Linked DNA regions of Homo sapiens: regions 1, 2, 4, 5, 6 and 7 are each linked to region 3. The links are contacts of gene promoters, found by promoter capture Hi-C in blood cells and fetal thymus (Javierre and others, 2016). All regions are on one chromosome and are shown on one strand. The core of a region is centred on a gene start or on the middle of the fragment in contact, and the rest is flanking DNA. Distances in the headings are between cores, read along the strand shown. Region 1 overlaps LOC107985242 (a long non-coding RNA gene). Region 2 overlaps LOC124904475 (a long non-coding RNA gene). Region 3 holds the start of B3GALT2 (beta-1,3-galactosyltransferase 2). Region 4 overlaps LOC107985242 (a long non-coding RNA gene). Region 5 overlaps LOC107985242 (a long non-coding RNA gene). Region 6 overlaps LOC107985242 (a long non-coding RNA gene). Region 7 overlaps LOC107985242 (a long non-coding RNA gene).

What was found. Contacts are between HindIII fragments. The CHiCAGO score rates a contact against its expected background, and 5 or more counts as called.
Region 1: a contact is called between a fragment that was not itself captured here and the fragment with the promoter of B3GALT2 in region 3, in 2 of 17 cell types (total CD4 T cells and total B cells). The highest score is 6.1, in total CD4 T cells.
Region 2: a fragment that was not itself captured here is called in contact with the fragment with the promoter of B3GALT2 in region 3 in 5 of 17 cell types (naive CD4 T cells, naive B cells, total CD8 T cells and 2 more); the score reaches 7.0 in naive CD4 T cells.
Region 4: a fragment that was not itself captured here is called in contact with the fragment with the promoter of B3GALT2 in region 3 in 8 of 17 cell types (naive CD4 T cells, total CD4 T cells, total CD8 T cells and 5 more); the score reaches 10.8 in naive CD4 T cells.
Region 5: a contact is called between a fragment that was not itself captured here and the fragment with the promoter of B3GALT2 in region 3, in 2 of 17 cell types (naive CD8 T cells and naive CD4 T cells). The highest score is 6.0, in naive CD8 T cells.
Region 6: a contact is called between a fragment that was not itself captured here and the fragment with the promoter of B3GALT2 in region 3, in 10 of 17 cell types (total CD4 T cells, naive CD8 T cells, naive CD4 T cells and 7 more). The highest score is 24.2, in total CD4 T cells.
Region 7: a fragment that was not itself captured here is called in contact with the fragment with the promoter of B3GALT2 in region 3 in 9 of 17 cell types (naive CD8 T cells, naive CD4 T cells, naive B cells and 6 more); the score reaches 14.2 in naive CD8 T cells.

The regions. Positions count from the first base shown.
Region 1 is chr1:194,335,607-194,338,306 of GRCh38, reverse strand. The region is part of intron 2 of LOC107985242 (a long non-coding RNA gene); the gene reads left to right. Among named protein-coding and RNA genes, the nearest start is that of LINC01031, 1.0 Mb to the right of the region's middle. The HindIII fragment of the contact is 1,174 bases long and covers 723-1,896 here.
Region 2 is chr1:194,196,728-194,199,427 of GRCh38, reverse strand. LOC124904475 (a long non-coding RNA gene) reads right to left here. Exons shown (of 9, transcript XR_007066777.1): 8 at 1,842-1,905. All of the region lies in intron 2 of LOC107985242 (a long non-coding RNA gene), which reads left to right. Among named protein-coding and RNA genes, the nearest start is that of LINC01031, 890 kb to the right of the region's middle. The HindIII fragment of the contact is 3,468 bases long and covers 1-2,700 here.
Region 3 is chr1:193,185,320-193,188,019 of GRCh38, reverse strand. It overlaps B3GALT2 (beta-1,3-galactosyltransferase 2), which reads left to right and starts at 1,407. Exons shown (of 2, transcript NM_003783.3): 1 at 1,407-2,001. The region is part of intron 10 of CDC73 (cell division cycle 73); the gene reads right to left. The HindIII fragment of the contact is 388 bases long and covers 1,299-1,686 here.
Region 4 is chr1:194,247,045-194,249,744 of GRCh38, reverse strand. All of the region lies in intron 2 of LOC107985242 (a long non-coding RNA gene), which reads left to right. Among named protein-coding and RNA genes, the nearest start is that of LINC01031, 940 kb to the right of the region's middle. The HindIII fragment of the contact is 5,601 bases long and covers 1-2,700 here.
Region 5 is chr1:194,224,586-194,227,296 of GRCh38, reverse strand. All of the region lies in intron 2 of LOC107985242 (a long non-coding RNA gene), which reads left to right. Among named protein-coding and RNA genes, the nearest start is that of LINC01031, 920 kb to the right of the region's middle. The HindIII fragment of the contact is 8,029 bases long and covers 1-2,711 here.
Region 6 is chr1:194,276,321-194,279,020 of GRCh38, reverse strand. The region is part of intron 2 of LOC107985242 (a long non-coding RNA gene); the gene reads left to right. Among named protein-coding and RNA genes, the nearest start is that of LINC01031, 970 kb to the right of the region's middle. The HindIII fragment of the contact is 3,038 bases long and covers 1-2,700 here.
Region 7 is chr1:194,317,259-194,319,958 of GRCh38, reverse strand. All of the region lies in intron 2 of LOC107985242 (a long non-coding RNA gene), which reads left to right. Among named protein-coding and RNA genes, the nearest start is that of LINC01031, 1.0 Mb to the right of the region's middle. The HindIII fragment of the contact is 2,830 bases long and covers 1-2,690 here.

The sequences.
Region 1 (2,700 bases), core at 60-2,559, 1.2 Mb before region 3:
CTCCACTCCACCCAAACAATATTTAGCCTCTAAATGGATGGCAATTAGGGCAGAAAGAAGAGCAAGTAGGTCTCTGATTAAAAGATGAAATATCAGTGCTAAACAAAATGCACATTCCTAGATTCAGGAGGTAGCCGAGTATTTGTGTATAAGAGGGATATCACAAGTAAAGACTATTAGGAAAACAATATATATAGCTGTATTTAAGAACACTCTCGGGGAGATAAATATTGCTAAAATCAATGAGGAGTTATATTTTATAAATTGTGACTTACTCAGATCCTTACGACAAATTTGTTTCTACAATGTCTATGTATAAAGGTTTCTTTCAACTATAATGAAATTACATATAAAGTGGCATTTTCCTCTATCATTGTTGGGTGTATAACAGATTTCCTTCAAAATTTTTAATAGTCTAGCAATTATACACAACTTTTCCTTTACTTTAAAAAATGCCCATAAGTTATTTGACAAATGCAATTTTTTTATCTAATTTGAATAGATAAGTAAAGTGACTTATATAAATATATTAAAATCCTCTTGTATGTATTTTTGTGCATCTCAAGTGCATAAAATAGTAATATATAATATATTACATAATAATTATAATCCATGGTTTATGATTCATTGTTGTCATTAGTTCATGGAACTCTCATCTTTTATTGCACTTATGTATATCTTAATATAATAGTTATATCATATTGCTTTAGCTTTAGAAAGCTTCAGATAAGTTTGATCTTGACTATAGGCCACTGACATTCCTTCCTCAGAGCATTTGCTTTAGAAAACTTGCAATTGTAAATTCTTGCTCTTTCCCATTTTACCTTATATGTTCTCAGAACATTTACATTAGCCTATCATCTAACACCAAGATTATTTTAAAATAAGGTGTTGAATATCTTTTGTAATTATTTGAATACCATACATTATGTTGAAATTGTGATGGGTTTGAAACATTATAAAGTAAAAAAAATCCTAAATTCAGCATCATCAGTTAGGGACTGTCCTTGGTCATCTTTACTTTAAAACCTTTAAAAATCGTATTGTGCTAATGATTTTCGCTCAATAATATGTTGCTAAGATTCATCCATGTTTTGTGTGTAGCTCCAGCTAATTAATTTTTAGAGCTGTAATATATTTTTTGAGGGGATATACAACATTGTGATTTTGAACAGGATTTTTGTACACATTCTTGTAGATGTTTCCCAGTATAAATGTGTAAGAGTTGATTTTGAACATCATCTTGGATGTTAAGGGCTTTAGGGTATTAGAAGATCAAATTTTTAAATATTTTCTCAAAAGGATTTCCCAAATGGCTATATCAAATATCAATTTACAACATTTTCCAAGACTTGATAATGGCAATCTTCTCTTTCTCTTTACGAAACAGTGGACACGTTATTTATATGTTTGCCACATTAAGAGTAAAACCTTTTGTTTATCAAAGGTGTATTACAAAATTATAATCCAGTGGAAAAAATAAGATGATAAATTACAATTTGGAAATAGACAAAAATTCACAAGAGATACGGAAGCAAAACACATAAATAGGAATTTGAAAGAAAGGGAACATATATTGTCAAAAAACATATAAAAATGTTTTTAATTTTACCAAGTGATATGGTTTGGATATTTGTCCCCTCCATATCTCATGGGTGTGGAGATTTGATCCCCAATATCGAAGGTGGGGCCTAGTGGGAGGTGTTTGGGTCATGGGAACAGATTTCCCCTAAATGGCTTGGGGCCATCCCCTTGGTAATAAGCAAGTTTTCACTGTGTTAGATGGTGAGAGAGATGATAGTTTAAAGGAGCTGTACACCCCCTCTTCTCTCTTGCTCCTTCTCTTGCCATGTGACACACCTGTCACCCCTTCACCTTGCACCATCAGTAAAAGCTTTTTGAGGCCTCACCAGAAGCAGATGCTGGCACTATGCTTGTTGTACAGTCTGCAGAACTGTGAGCCAAATAAACCTGTTTTCTTTATAAATTAGCCAGCCTCAGTATTCCTTTACAGCAATGCAAAATTTATTAACACACCAGTCATCAATGAAGTGAAAATCAAAGAAAAAAACAAACAGAATATACAAATGACTGTTTAATGCAGACCATTCACAGAGGTGACAATCTTATTGCTAGTAATTGGTATGCATATATATTTTGATCCAATACATTATTTTAAATACTTTGTAGACATTTTTATGTGATATTCATGATTAAAATAAAGTAGGCAATATTGGTGTCCTGGTGGATGTATTTCAGAGTATTTATTTCCAAAGAACAACTCATTTTTAAACTATGTTTGCTAGCGAGAGTTATAATAAATACTGTGTGCAGATTTACTTAATAATAGTCTTTAATATATTAGTGCATTGCAAGGACTTTACATTTTCCTATAATAATTTTAAAGTATATAATACTATTGAAATTTCTATAACAACCCACTTTCTCAAAGACACAAGTATGTTGAAAAACTTACTAATGTATTTCTAAGACTGGTGATTATTGAAAGTCTTTTAAAACTTTTCTTTAGATGATTTTAAATATGTAATTTTAGAATTTTTTTAATTTATTAAAGCAATTTTGATTACAAAATATTAACTTTTTTAATTTGATGGTAGAATAACACATTTAAAGTATTTTATATATAGAAATAAATGTCTATATGCACTAACATTGGAAATGTCCAGATGGAACATAAAA
Region 2 (2,700 bases), core at 187-2,686, 1.0 Mb before region 3:
TGTAAGTATTGTACACTTATTTTATTGAACTTCTTATTAAAGAAACATGCACAGTGAATTAATAAATGAATATGGTTCCCTAGAGATGTGTGGATATCATTTTTTCTGCATATAAATCACTTCTTGGTGTGAGGTTCTAGCTCCACATCAAAGAGCATGGAGCATAGTAAAGTGTAACTGTGGAGGTCATAGACAGGGTCACTTTTCCAGATGGTGGTTAAATTGCTGTAGTTTTAACTTGGGGTTACTTTATTTTATTCTGAGTTCTACTTATTTTATTAAAGGAAAGATCATGATAAATTTTCAAAGGATTATCTGTAAAATAGATGAAAAACAAAAATGCAGACTGCCTAAGCTAAAGTTTAAACACTTATAGAATGAAGTTTAACCTGTATAGTTTTTCTGACTCTTATTTCCTCAGTCTCAATTTACTATTTATCAATTATTTCCTGTATTATCTCCCAAAATTACTCACTGACTTTACATCTTTTCCTAGTTTTCATTTTTAATATATTTTTTCCTTATTATCAGGCATATTACAAAATTAAATGGAAATCTTTTGTTGTGACACTCAATAGCCTCATGACCCACTAGAAGAATATTTGATCAAATTTAAGCCTGGAGTTACAATTTATTGAAGGCCATAGTAAGAAACCTAAAGGGAGGAAAAGTAAAAATAAAAAGGAATTGGTGCAAAACTGTCATCAGCAAACATATGCTTCTTTATCATTTATTCTTTCAGCACATTACAATGAACTTTTATTGAGGCATAATTTATACACAATAAAATACTACAAATTCATCATTTTATGAGTTTTGATAAATGTGTATATCTGTATTTCTCAATAAAGATATTGAAGATTCCCATAACCCCAAGAATTTCCCTTGTCAACTTTCACAATATTGCATTCTAATGACTGTATGTCTCTTTTCCAAACATAGACCATTAAAACCTCTTTGAGTAAAGGAGACACATCTTGCCAATGATTGTTCCCTAGCATTGAGTATAGAACCTATATCAAAGTAAGACATAAATCCTTCTAAGCAGACTTCGTGACTAACATCAGGGAGACCAAACAAAAGACAGATGGCATTGAGGAGGACAGAGAGGTGAATTCTGCAAAAAGGGTATGAAATGAGAATGAACATACAATGTGAAAACATAAACCTTTTATATACCATAAAAATGTCATTAGTTTTAGGTAATATATAATTATAATTAAACTTTTCTTGCTATAATCTCTCTAGTGGAGTTCTTTATCCCTGGAATTAATGATTTTATTGGGCTTTTATATTAATCAAGAACAATGTTCTTTGCAAGTAACAGAGAAAAATACATTTCCAAATATATAAAAGTGTAATTATTAGAAAATGTATCTAGAAAAAAATAAATAGTAACCCCTGGAATTGAACAGAACAAATGACTCCAAAGTCATTAGAATTTTCTTTCCTCTATATTATCTTCATTATTTTTCTGTGTGCTCAAACTCTCATCATCACTCAGTGTGGAGAAGATGATATGACTAGTGGAATTTCAAGGATTATTTTCTAATATCTACATTACTAAAGACAAAAGTGGCTCCTTTATTCTGACTTAGTTTGAGATACACTGAGGACATGAATTGATTGGACTGATTTATGTTACAAGTTAATTCTTATAAGTAGGTCAGTAGCTCAGAATTTTTATTAGGAAATCATGGCAGAAATAGGAAAGGATACTTTCAAGCCTACTTATTCGAAAATATGATTCTTAAAGTTAAATTAGGTTTATTATCATATGAAGTTGCTCAGAAATCTTTCTTTCTAAAGAGAATATAAATTATTTTGGGGAAGATACTCACAGTCATTAATATAACCCCAAAAAGAGTACAATGTCTCTTCTTTGGTGGAAAAAGCACTCTGCACCTGAGGGAACAGAAGAAAGTTACATCAGGACATCCTTGGAATAAAGTGTTCTACAAAAGAATGAGAGTACCTCTAGAAATTCACACGGAATCAAATGATATAATTGCTGGACCTCAGTAATGCAAACCCATAGGAAATCAGGATAAAAATTAGATCAGATTTGGTGGTGGTCTAGAAAAAAATAATTTGTAACAAAGGTGACCTCCTTGAGGGTAATCAGATGGTCCAGTTTGCATTGAAAGACACAAATAACAAATCCAGGCATGGTACCAGAAATTTTATATGGTGTCACTAGGAGCCATAGCATTTTCAACTCATCATCTTACCATTAAAGGGTATTCCTATTTATTCCCAGACTCTGAAAGCTGTCAGAGTAGTGGCCCCAATGACCCTTTCTGTATCTATCGATGTATGTCCTGCCTAGTCACCTCCCCATTGAACCTGAGTTTGACCATGTGACTAGCTTTGTCCAATAGAACAAAATCAAATGTAATACAAAAATAGATATTAAAAAACTCTTTTTGCATTGGGACTTACTTATGCCCTAAAAACATTTCCAACAGGTGAAGAAGTCCAGGCTAATAAGCTGTAGACATTTTACTCAGATAACATCTAACATTAACCACCTACTATGGAAGTGTGGCCACCTCAGGCCATCGAGCTTCAAATAAGCCACCACATGACTGCAGCTATGTGAGAGCCTCTTGTAGAGCGCAACAGTAGAAACATCCAATTGAGTCCAGCTCAAATTGCTGACTCATAGAATCACGAGACAATAATGTTGTCCTTGTTTTC
Region 3 (2,700 bases), core at 158-2,657:
TCTTAAGCATTACTCTGTTAACTAGTAAACTAATTTTAAAAACAAAACGGTAGTGAGTGAGAATTGCAGTATGGGTGGATATAGACTACAAGGAAGTTGGGTTTTAGTCCTCTCCTTCAAACTTAACTAGGAAAAGTCAAAGCTCAGTCTAGGCTTTAGGTTTCCTATTTATAAAATTCTTTTTTTTCTTTAACGATCCTTCTAACATTTCTAATACAGTGGGGTTCTTAAAACTACAAAGCACATTTCATCAGCAAAGCTCAAAAATATGTGGACAAAATTTTTTTTAATATCAGAGAAAACAAATTCATATTCATTTGAAATAGCATATATTAATGGTGGAGGCAGTGAGATGAAGAATATGTATATAACTGTTAACCTTTAGCTTAAGCTCCAAAACTATAACTTTCTAGGACTGAATTACTGTCCCTAGAGTCACAGAGGAAAAACTGATAATAAAGGCTTTTTACTACAACAAAAAATTTAAAAAAACCTTCCCTACTGCTCTGCAGTAAGAAAAGAAGGTGCCAGCCCCAGAAACTAACCATATTAGAAAAATCTCAGTGAGTGTGTAGTGTTAATAAAATCTGCCTCATGGCAAGTTATTAAATCTTTCTGAAACATTAGAATAAGTAAACATAATTAGTAAAATCTCATTACCCCCAGATCCTGTACAAGTGTGCTATATCTATTACATCATTTTACTGAATTCTACGATACATGTAATTTTAAAGGGAAGGAAAAATAAATAAAAAATAAATGACAACATTAAAAAGTGATTTAAAATAAAGTTTTCTGCCATCAAGAACACCAAAAACCACATAAGAGCAAAAAAGAAGTGGGCTGTATCACATCATGCATTAGTAAAGTAATCCAAGACAGCTTATTTATACAAACCCCAGAAAACGGGGGGGGGGATCTAAATTACAAAGATACATGGTTTCAATAGAAACCATAGGTCTTAACTACATATTAGTAAAAAATCAAGAGCAATTTGAAAGCAGAGAAAAAAAACTTCAAGAAGAGAATGCACTGAAGGGGTTAAATTACACCAACTTACACACAAAAGCTTATACTGCTTACACCCTACAAAAGCATGTAAGAAACATGAAAACCAACATCTAACACAGAAAACACTTAGAAAGCCTGTACTTAAGAATAAAGTTAAAAAAGGAAGTAAGCTGGAAAAAATAAAATCATAACCATTTCATAATCATCACATTTTCAAATTATTCACTCATCACTACACTTGCATTCAACATATATAATTTATCACATAAAAGCAAAATCTCTAAGCTTCTCCCTACCTTAGGTTTTTAGTCAAAATGAATGCAAACAATCACGTGGGATTCAGCCAAGCAGTGACGTTAAATTCTGCTCTGTCAGAGAGAGCATCTGTCAAGCCCACATTTAAACTGCTGCCTGCCTGTGCAGCAGCTGAGGAACCGTGGATTTCATATTATAGACTAAAACCCCATTAAAACTGCTCAAAATCCTTCCTGCAGCTGCCAGGCAACAACGAAAGAAGAGAGGTAAATCCTATTCTTTTCCAATACAACTGAAGCACTACATTTTAGCTCTGGCTGCTTTACATTGCAGCTCAGTGTTATTAGTAGAAATATGGATACTGAGACGAGAACACAGCACTGCATTGTCCAGCCAGGAAAATAGCAGATGTAAAAAGCTTCAATGCATCAACTGTCGGGAAGAGTCAACAGTGCTACAAGCAGAACGGGCAACTACAGCTCTTTTGTTTAACGAAAGAGAGAAAATGAAAGAAAGGGAAAATTTCAGAAGACTAGGACCCATATGAACAAGGAGGGTAACTCGAAGACAAGCAGACAGATGGACACTTTGGATACTGTGAAAAGCAATCGCAGGAGGCAGACTGTTGGGGGATGTGCGCATGTTCGATAGCATCTTTTTTGCTGAAGTGATGGCGTGCCAAAAGTATTTTCAGTGGGCATAATCCTCTTCACATAAATGGCCTGACCAAGGAAGGTATGTCAATATCTTGTGTATGATAGTCATTTAAATGTGTTACCTTTTTATAGCCCTGGAGGCACTAATACCTGATAAGCAAGTTCATACAGCTCACTGCCCTTGAAACTATGAAAAGGTTTCTTAATATCTGATTTTAAAATTTGTCATTGTTTAGAAGACAAGCTGTCACTGCTTTATGCAGCTAAATATGTAGCTTGGAGTAATTCTGGGTAATAGACATCAGAGGGAAAAGGCAAATAAGAAGAAGATGTGTTTAAAGGATTCCTTAAGAAATTAAACTTAAAAAAAAATCTGTAGCCCTTTACAAAAAACACAGCAATATTCTATCAAATTAGGTCAAACTGAATCCTTATCTAGTAAATTAAATGCTCTCTTAAAAATGGCTATCAAAAGACACAATGCAGTGAAATTTCATTAAATAGTAGCAAGGAAAACCTTAAGAGTTTTTTTTTCAAAGTCCTTTTAAAACAAAACCTTAATATGTAACAGCTTTTAGTAACAAAATCTTCCCCAACATCTCCCTAAATGAAGATAATGAACACAACCAAAGAGAGTATCAACAAATTTTAAATATTACCAAGCTACAAGAAGATACTAAAAGGAAAGCATTAACATAAGATCACATAAGGTAGTGTGAGTTTATGCATAACCCCACAATAGAGCCTCGTGTTATTATAGTGACCATGAATAGAACTT
Region 4 (2,700 bases), core at 115-2,614, 1.1 Mb before region 3:
ATATATGGCATTTATTGTGTTGAAGTAAGTTATTTGTGTATCTGTTTTTGAGAATTTTTATTGTGACTCAGTGTTGAATGTTGTCAAATGGCTTTTCTCCATCTTTTGAGATGATCACATAGCTTTTGTCTTTCGTTCTGCTAATGTAGTATATCACATTGATTGATATGTATATACCGAGCCACCGTTGCATTGCAGTGATAAATTCCAGTTGGTCATGGTATATAAGCCTTTTAGTATGCTATTGAATTTGACTTGCAAGTATTTTATTATGTATTTATGCATGTATGTTCATCAGGGATATTGACCTGTCATTTTACATTCTTGTGGTATCTTTGGCCTTGGTATTGGGGTGATGCTAGACTCATAGAGTTTGGATGTATTCCTTTTGTTCTGTTTTTTGGGGAGAGTTTAAAAAGTATTTAATCTGTGGTATCTAGAGTGACAGAACTAATGATATATATATACGGGAACTTATTAAGGGGAGCTTATTAAGTAGTAGTAACTCACACAATCACAAGGTCCCACAATAGACCATTTGCAAGCTAAGGAGAAAGAAAGCCAGTCTGAATCCCAAAGCTGAAGACCTGTAGTCTGATATTCAAGAGCAGGAAGCATTCAGCACAGGATAAAGATGTAGGCTGAGAAGCTAAGCCAGTCTAGCCTTTTCACGTTTTTCCGCTTGCTTTATGTCCTGGCTGCACGGGCAGCTGATCAGATGGTGCCCACCCAGATTAAGGGTGGGTCTGCCTTTCCCAGCCCACTGACTCAAATGTTAATCTCCTTTGGCAACATCCTCACAGACATACCCAGGATCAATAATTTGCATCCTTCAATCCAATCAAGTTGACAGTATCAGCCATCACAGTATTGGTATTCTTGAATGTTTGATAGAATTTAGCAGTGAAGCTATCTGGTCCTGGGCCTTTCTTTGTTGAGAGGTTTTGGATTACTGATCCAAATGGCTTATTTCTTATTGGTCTGTTCAGGATCTCTATTTCTTATTTATTTATTTATTTATTTATTTATTTATTTGTTTGTTTGTTTGTTTATTTGAGATGGAGTCTTGATCTGTCACCCAGGCTGGAGTGCAGTGGCGAGTTCTCGGCTCACTGCAAGCTCCGCCTCCCAGGTTCATGCCATTCTCCTGCCTCAGCCTCCCGAGTAGCTGGGACTACAGGCACCCACCACCACGCCTGGCTAATGTTTTGTATTTTTAGTAGAGACGGGGTTTCACCATGTTAGCCAGGATGGTCTCAATCTCCTGATCTGGTGATCCACCTGCGTCGGCCTCCCAAAGTGCTGGGATTACAGGCATGAGCCACCATGCCTGGCCTCTATTTCTTCTTGATTCAGCCTTGCTAGAGTGTATGTTTCTAGGAATTTATCAATTTATTCTAGGTTATCCTATTTGTTGACATATAGTTATTCATAATAATTCCTTATAATCCTTTTATTTTTGAGGAATGCATTGAAATATCTCCTCTTCCATTTCTGATTTTGAGTCTTCTATTTCTCCTTTTCCGTCACTTTACATTTTTTTTTTTTTGTAGGTAGTCTAACAAAGAGTTTGCCAATTAACCTTTCAAAACACCAACTTTTAATTTTGTTGGGTTTTTTTGTATTGTTTTTCTATTCTCTGTTTTAATGATTTTTTGCTCTAATATTTTCAATTTTCTTTCTTATGCTAACTTTGGAGTAAGTTTGTTCTTCTCTATATTTCCTTAACTTGTAATGTCAGTTTGTTTATTTGAACTCTTTCTTCTTTTTTAATATGTATTTTTCACTATATAATTTTCTTGAAGTTCTGCTTTTGCAGTGTCCCATATGTTTTGGTATGTTATGTTTTTGTTTTTATTTATTTTAAGATTGAAAAATAATTCCTTTCCGTTTCCTCTTTAACACAATGGTTGTTCAAGAGTGTTTGTTAGTTGTCGAATTTTCTAGTTAATTACTGCTGTTGGTTTCTAGTTTCATTCTATTTTGCTCAGAAAAGATACTTGATATGATCTTGATACTTTTACACAGATAGGGGACATCTAAGACCCATGGAGGGGTTGAAGGTGGGACAATAACCTGTCCTGCTTTTTTCATGAAAACATGGCAGTAGAGGCACCAATGGACCAGAAACCTAAAGTTATGCACTAGTCTTACTAGGGACCTGCCAGGAGGTATAACTGAGTCTGAATTTATGTTCCTTATGTAATCTTTGGTACCGTATATGGGAGTCAGTGCTCATAAAAAATTAATAAGAAACCTCTTCCTGACCAACACAGATATTGTTTCCTCAACAGCCACTGCTGTGGTAGCTGGTAGACATTACCTAACTCCCTTGGGAAAGTTGTTTTAGACAACATAATTGCTCTAGGTTTTCTTTTTGCCTAATTTGGGGTAGTGTGTGCAATTGCCAACACCTCCTGCTGTATCTGGATAAACACCTCAGTGATTATAGAAATACAAACAAAGGAGATCTGGAAGTATGTCCACGAGTTGCAGACAGTGGGGCTAGCTGAAGGATCCTTCTTTGACCTCCTTAGAAATCTTACTTATATCACTAGGACCTTGGGCTAGATTGCAGCTACAGGCAGGCCTGATCATCCTGGTGGTAGCCTCCTGGGCCTAATGAAGTATATTTTGGCTATCGTTCAATGATGTTGCCCTGAGATTGTGTCAGTCAAGGTGTTACGTAGATCCAATGAA
Region 5 (2,711 bases), core at 101-2,600, 1.0 Mb before region 3:
ACATGAGGAAAAAAAAATGCGGTGAAGCACTTTGTGACTTTTTCCTAACCTGTTATAATTTCCTGGAAGACAGGGATTGCACTGTTTTCTTCATTCTGAGTATATTGCCAACTGGTTTATCCTAATGATTCTATACAGTATCAAAAAAGAGAAAATACAATGAGAAATAGATAAAACATGCTTTTTCAACAGTTGTCATATTTTATTTTAAAAATCACCTTGCATATCATTACTCTTGCATGCCGCCTTCCCATGCAATATAGTCTGTGTAAAAAGATCTTGATACAGAAAACAATGCCCCAAATGACTGTAGAGCAAAGGAAAAATAGAAGAAAATAAAGAATGAAATGACTGAAATAAAATGATAGAAACAACACTCAAAAAAATGAGGGAAATTTTCATGAGAGTTAAATATGAGAAAAAATGAACAGTGGCGAAACAAGACTACACATAATTCTATGTAATATTTTGGTATTCACATATTAAATTTTAAGGTGAATATATGTTTATACACATACATATTATATACTGCCAGAGACAAAGAGAAGGAATTATTTTTAAATTGGAAATTGAAATACTTAAATCTCCTAATTTGGAATAAATCAAGATTTATTTCAGAATGAGACAAACTTCTACAACAAAGGCAGTCAACACAGATTTTGCCTCACTTGCAGATTTTCATTTCATCTACCATTTTTACTTTAAATTTTACAAAGCAAAAAGCATACATTTTCCAAGATGAGCTTGTTGCATGCCAGCTGTATATGTTTTGTATTACAGTAGATATGGAAGGATTGGGTGTCTTGGATTTAGAAAATCTTCCAGCGTGCACTCCTAATCTTAATTAGTTACCTGCTACACTTGCTTATTTCTACACTATCTCATGTCTTTTCCAGTCTGTTGCCTTATAGTGACAAGCAGTGATACTACATGCCTGCCCAGGGCTTTACTTGTCAAATTGAAGTCACAGAAAGCATAGCACCTTGTTTTGGATGGAGCTGGATAAGATAAATCTTGTTTTTCTCTTCTTTCTGTTAACAGCTAGCTTCTTTTGGGGGAAAAAAAAGCCTTTTTTTTTTTTTCAAACTGAATACATAAAATCTGTAAAGTTGCAACTACAGACAGTTAGCTTGCAAAGGCTAAAGCCAAATAAATTACTGAACTGTGGTGGTTTAACAGTATTTTAAAGACACAGGGATTCTTTTTCCCCCTTTTATTGAATTTAGGTCAAAGAAAGATAAAGTTAAACTATAGTGCTACTGGGAGAAGAAGGACTCGTGGCTGTAAGCGGTTTGTGGTTTTGTCACTATGCTAACCTTAACAATCTATGTTACAATAATAGCTTCCTCAAAATGAACATCTGTTGCTTGGTTAAGCATTATTATAATGATGAGGTAAATATATCATTCACAAGTGAAAATCCTGGTAGTATATAATACATATGTAGCTATTTCTATATTATACAATAGTATAAAATATTAATTTAATTTTGTAATACTTGCCTCTGTTATGTTTTGATATGATATATAGTGTGGAGTTTTCACTTTAGGTTTCTGTGCCCTGTGCTTAAAACTGAGATGAGAATGTTGGCAATGAGATGCATTTTATAGCTCATGTATCATATTTATGCATATTATCTTAATTGTAGCAATAAAGCTAGCCTAAGACTGTGATTGGGACTACAAATCAGAGAGATTGTCCAAGTTATCACAGTTCCAAAGTGAGAGATATTTAGCAAGAACAAGGTAGTGAAAATCTTTTCCTTCTCCACATTGTTGTCTCTAAATCAAACTCTAGTATTGTTCAGTTCATTATTAATTATTCTCATTTTTTTCTAATCTACTTTTGGAAATATATGCATTTCCAGTTGACCAGGGTGTTTAGGTGGTCTAGGTATTTAGTTGACTAGCCCAGTTGACTCGGCAGTTGCCTAGGTTATTTATCTGGGAACTACATTTTTGTGGTGTTAGAGACCACCAGTCTAGGAAGGATTTAGTTTAATAAAAGAGTTTAATTTGCATTCAAATATACATTTATACATAATTTTAATTATGGGAAGATACTACTTAATACTCACTAAGTAATAGCCATGTATTTGGCAAAGAAGTACAGCTATGAACATAAAAGGATGACTGCTGCAATCATAGAGCAATAAAGTATAGGTAAATATATATAATGAACAAAAATATTTTTTCTTGTTATTATAATAAATTGCAAGATACTATAAGAGCATAGAAAAGATGTCTGACTGTAGGATATATGTAATCCTAATATATATTATATAGTATAATATATATATATATCTGTAGAAATTGAGGCACAGTAAATTTAAGTAACTTGTTCAGGGTCTCAAATAAAGTACGTGGCACTGTTAAGTTTCAGACCCACTAAGTCTATACACTAAACTCATATGCTTCACTGTCATATTGAATTTTCTGTTTGATCTTAATATCCTTAGTGAAATAGACTATATTCGTATGTTGTATCATTCTAGAGTCTCTTGAAAAATTTTCAAACAGTAACCAATAAACATTTACGCTATTTGTTAGACTCAGAGCCCTCCTTAAAATATGCAGAAGGCAAACTTAATACATGCAAGATGATTTTACAAAATCTAGATTCAGTTGTTTTTGAAGTTGATAATATGATGCTTCCATGTTTCCTAAGGAGTCTATCATAGCAGTACTTTTTAATGTGATTACAATTAATTC
Region 6 (2,700 bases), core at 199-2,698, 1.1 Mb before region 3:
CTAATTCCGTAGGACTGTGGCCTCATAAGAAGAAAAACGAAGAGCTGTTTCTCCCCTTCTTTCTCACTCTCTCCTTTCTCTTTCTTGTTCTCTCTTTCTCTCACTCTCTGTCTCTGTCATATAAGGCAAAAAGGCAGCCACCTGGAAGCCAGGAAAAGAGTTCTTACCAGGACCCAAATTGTCCAGCACCTTTGTCTCGGATTTCCTTACCCACAAGAACTGAGAACATAAATTTCTGTTGTTGAGCTACCCAGTCTATGTGTTTTGTTATGGCAGTCACAACGAATTACTACAGTGGTTTTATTTTTATTTAAAAAATTTTTCTTTCCAACCTTTATTGTAGGTGCAGAGGGTACATGGGCAGGTTTGTCACATAGATAAATTGTGTGTTGTGGGGGTTTGGTGTACAGATTATTTGGTCACCCAGTTAATGAGCATAGTACCCTGTAGGTAGTTTTTTGATGTCTCCCTTCTCCCACCCTCCACCTTCAAGAAGGGCCTGGTGTCTATTGTTCCCTTCTTTGTGTTCAAATGTGTTCAATGTTTACCTCCAATTATAAGTAAGAACATGTGACATTTGGTTTTCTATTCCTGTGTTTCATATTTTCTTCATCCAGTCCACTGTTGATGGGCATCTAGGTTGATTCCATGTCTTTGTTATTGCGAATAGTGCCATGATGAATACACACATTCATATGTCTTTATGGTAGAATGATTTCTATTCCTCTGGGTATATACCCAGAAATGGGATTGCTCGGTTGGATGGTAGTTCTGTTTTAAGTTCTTTGAGAAACCTCGAAAATGCTTTCCACGGTGACTGAACTAATTTACATTCTCACCAGCGCTGTATAAGCATTACCTTTTCTCCAAAACCTTGCCAACATCTGTTAATTTTTGACTTTTTAATAATAGCCATTCTGACTGGTGTGAGATGGTATCTCATTGTGGTTTTGATTTGCATTTCTCTAGTGATTAGTGATATTGAACATTTTTTTTTTTTTACATGCGTGCTGGCTACGTGTATGTCTTCTCTTGAGAAGTGTCCATTCACATTTTTTGCCCATTTTTTAATGGTTTTTTTTTATTGTTAAATTGTTTAAGTTCTTTATGGATTCTGGATAGTAGGCCCTTGTCAGATGCATAGTTTGCAAATATTTTCTTCCATTTCATAGGTCATCTCTTTACTCTGTTAAAAGTTTCCTTTGCTGTGCAGAAGCTCTTCAGTTTAATTAAGTCCCACTTGTTAATTTTTGTTTTTGTTGCAATTGCTTTTGGAGTCTTTATAACAAAATATTTCCCAGTGCCTATTTCCAGAATGGTATTTCCTAGTTATTTCCAGGTTTTTATAGTTCTGGCTTTTACATTTAAATCTCTAATCCATTTCGAATTGATTTTAGTTTATGATAAAAGGAAAAGGTCCAGTTTCAATCTTTTGCTTATGGCTAGAAAGTTATGCAAGCACTATTTATTGACTAGCGATTCCTTTCCCTGTTGCTTGTTTCTGTCAAATATCAGATGGTTGTAGGTGTGTGGCTTTATTTCTAGGCTCTCCACCATGATCCATTTGTCTATGTGTCTATTTTTGTACCAGTACTATGCTGTTTTGATTACTGTAGCCTTGTTGTATAGCTTGAAGTTGGGTAGTGTGATGCCTCTGGCTTTGTACTGTTTGCATACGATTGCTTTGGCTATTCAGGCTTTTTTTTTTTTTTTTGGTTCCATACGAATTTTAGAATAGTTTCTTCTAATTCTATGAAAACATCATTGGTAGTTTGATAGGAATAGCATTGAATCAGATGGTGGTTATAAATTTTCTCTTTCTATTCAACATTTTAGATACTTTACTATAATGTGTTATGTGTTATTATATACTATAGATTATATGTTTATATTATATATAGATATATAATATCTATATGATATTGATATATATATCATATATAGTTTTTGCGTGTATATATATTTATGGAAGGCCTGACTTTATATATATATATCTATATATATCTCCATAAATCTGTGACTTCATATCAGTAATCAGTTTTTGGAAATCGTTAGCTATTACTTATTCAAATAATTATCCTGTCTAATTTTTTTTCATTTCTAATGGGACTGCATTTGCACATATATTAGACCTATTCATGGTATCTCTGTTCTTTCTGTATTCTCTCTAAATATTTTCATTTGTTTTACTGTTCAGATCTCCAATCTTGTCTTTTGCTGTTTCTCATGTGTTTTTCAGTACAGCCCTTTAATTCTTAATTTTACATATAGCATATTTTCTATTCTTTTAATTTTCTCATAACTCATTTTATAAAGTTCAGTTCTCTGACGAAAAATTCCAATTCATCTTTATTTGGTTGAAAATATTAATTAATCTCATATTATAATTTAGGTCTCAAATCCTCATAACCTATTACTCCTCTGAAACTATTTCTTTGTTTCTTTTCTAATCTTTGTTATTATCATCATGATCACCATAATTAGCACCACCATTTATTTTTGCCCATTGCTATGACATGTAATTTTTTTTTTTTTTTTTTTTTTTTTTTGAGACGGAGTCTCGCCCTTTTGCCCAGGCCCGAGTGCAGTGGCGCTATCTCGGCTCACTGCAAGCTCCGCCTCCTGGGTTCACACCATTCTCCTGCCTCAGCCTCCCAAGTAGCTGGGACTATAGGCGCCTGGCTAATTTTTTGTATTTTT
Region 7 (2,700 bases), core at 26-2,525, 1.1 Mb before region 3:
GCTCCTATGTAACATATGCATAATAGACATAACTATGTACCCATGATCTATATGACTGATTTTTATGTCAGACAACTGTGTTCTACCTAGCATCAAATTTGATGTGTAGTTGAAGGAAAATAACATGCTTTCATCAGTTTTTAAAACACTACATAGTTAACTTGCTATGAAAGCAAACCTTACAACAACAATTCCCACTAATACCAGAATCTCTTATAATTACTTTTTGCTGTTTCCATATGTTACACTTGAACATACAAACATGCACACTTTTCAAGCTGTTTTCATTGTTTTCAGTTATTTCACACTCTGACAATCATACCATTAGTTAAAAAAAATGAGCACCAGCTGCTTCATACTGCGACTTTTCTTCTCCCTATTGAGTTATACTGCCATCCTCTTACAGTAATTTGAATAATTAGGCTTAACTTCTTGCTTTTCAGCCTACAACTGTAATCAATACATGTTGTTGGTTAGATATCCACAAAAAAACTTTCATCTTCACTACCACTTCCTCATGACAAAGATGCAAAAATGAGACTTCAGCATTGTCACGATTTAAGATGCTGCCCAATAGTGTTCAATTTAATAATATACTTTATGGGTATTTATGGAAATTTGACATTCTTTGTTTTTGTCTTACCCTCCTTTGTGGGTTCACACCAAATACGCAGTCTGTTCCACTGTAGTTAGTCTTGTGTGTGTCATTGAGGACAGCCTCTGTATGTTTACAATTGTCTCTTTTTAAATCAAAGATCCAAGATTTAGTAATCTTGTAGTACTCTTTCAATGTAATGATGCTTACTATTGTAGCTTTTTTAGTTAACATCTAAAGAGATATCTTTGAAGATAGCACTAAACTAGCTCATTTTAAAAGCAACATTAGATTACTAAATTTGCCTTAGTTCACAATCCATGACCATTAGTTTCTTAATGGATTTGGGAAACTCAATAATTCCTGCTTAGATTACATTTTATTAGATTTGGATGTCTTTCATACTAACTTTTAAAGATCTGTAGACAGTATAATCAGATTAGAGTTTCAGTCTCAATGGCTTACAATATAACATTTTTATTGGCTCTTCACAAGCACCTAAAGTCACACTGAGAGCAGTATAATACCGAGTGTTCACAAAATTAAATTCAGAAGGTGAGCAATTGGCATATTCTTCCATTGGATAATTGTTTTTTTCTTGTCAGGATTCTATTTCTGTTTTGTTTTAACATATTTCCATGGTTATCAGAAAGGAGAAAACATAAAAGGTCATATATGGTTTATAAAATAAGGAATGGCATTTAAACTAAGAAATCTACTTGTTATTTTCTACATAGCTTTTATGACACGTGCAGTAATTAAGTGTCGCATTACCTTAATTGAAACGTATCTATTTAATTAAGGTACTAGGAAATAAAGGCCATGCAATATATTTCTTCCTAAATACTCACTAACAAAACAATATTTTGAATGAAGCTGTTTTAATAGTTGACTTTACAATTGAATATAAAATTTTCATAAATATAAGAATGAATTATCAATAATTGATAAATGCAAAGCAATACAATCAATATCACTATAAATGCATAAACAAATGGTATGTATCAGCATTTTATGAATCATTGAACATAATATCTTATGTAAATTGGTTTTAAAATGGGTGTGTACAAATACAGAAAATATATTTATCCATTTATTTTTAAAAAGTCAATTGAGATGTAAAAGGCAAATTTATGTTGCTAGTGCAAAATATATACACATGTGTACAATTCAGAGAGCCATTCTTTCTATGGGAACACTTCTTTTGATAGTCACACTCCTTTAGTTTCTAATTGAACTGTGATCCTTGAGGCATTTGCTGATGATGATTTCTATACATTTCTGGTGCATAATATCTGATATGTTTTACCATGTTGCATTTGGAACTGCCTGCATTCTGTCATTGCTGACAGTAAAGAACCAGAGTAAGACAGGGTAGACCAACTTCTGGATGAAAGTAGGGTTCTAAGTTTAAACACTAATGGGAGAAAGATGAAATAATCCTAGTTGGCATTTCCTTCTCTCAGTTTGAAGAATCCTTGCCCAGTTGCTAATATGGTAGCATCAGTCACCGCAAGGATATGTTGGTAAGACATTTTTGAGTCTGATCTCATATGTGTCAAAAGTACTGTGCTTTATCTAGTTCCTCTGGGCAACTGCTTTTTCCTTCAATGAGCTTCACATATTAGCTTATCATTATATCCCACGACTGTTCCTTTCAATGAATTATAAGTAACCCAAACTATAAAATATATAAAATTAATAGTTTTTGGTGACCATTGGTCATAGTTAACTTGTTTTTTTTCTACTTGACTTGGCACATCTCTACTCTGCATTATAACTTGGGGACCACATAGATTATTATCCAAATTGGGATGACAAGGCTGAAAATGAACAGAACACTATTCATGGGAATGGGTATATAAAGCAGTACTGTCCCAGGAAAACTCATTTGCAGAATTATCCGAATTATAATACTTTAGGAAGTATTTTTAAAAAGTAATAAATATTACATGAAAGGATGAGATATTTTATATTGATAACTTGTTCATATATATATATGATCATATATATATTCTCACAACTTAGAATGTCAATTCTTTGAAGCCTGGGGCTGTCTTTTGTAATTATTTTAATTGTCTCCAAAGTGCAAGCTTTTTTTGTAA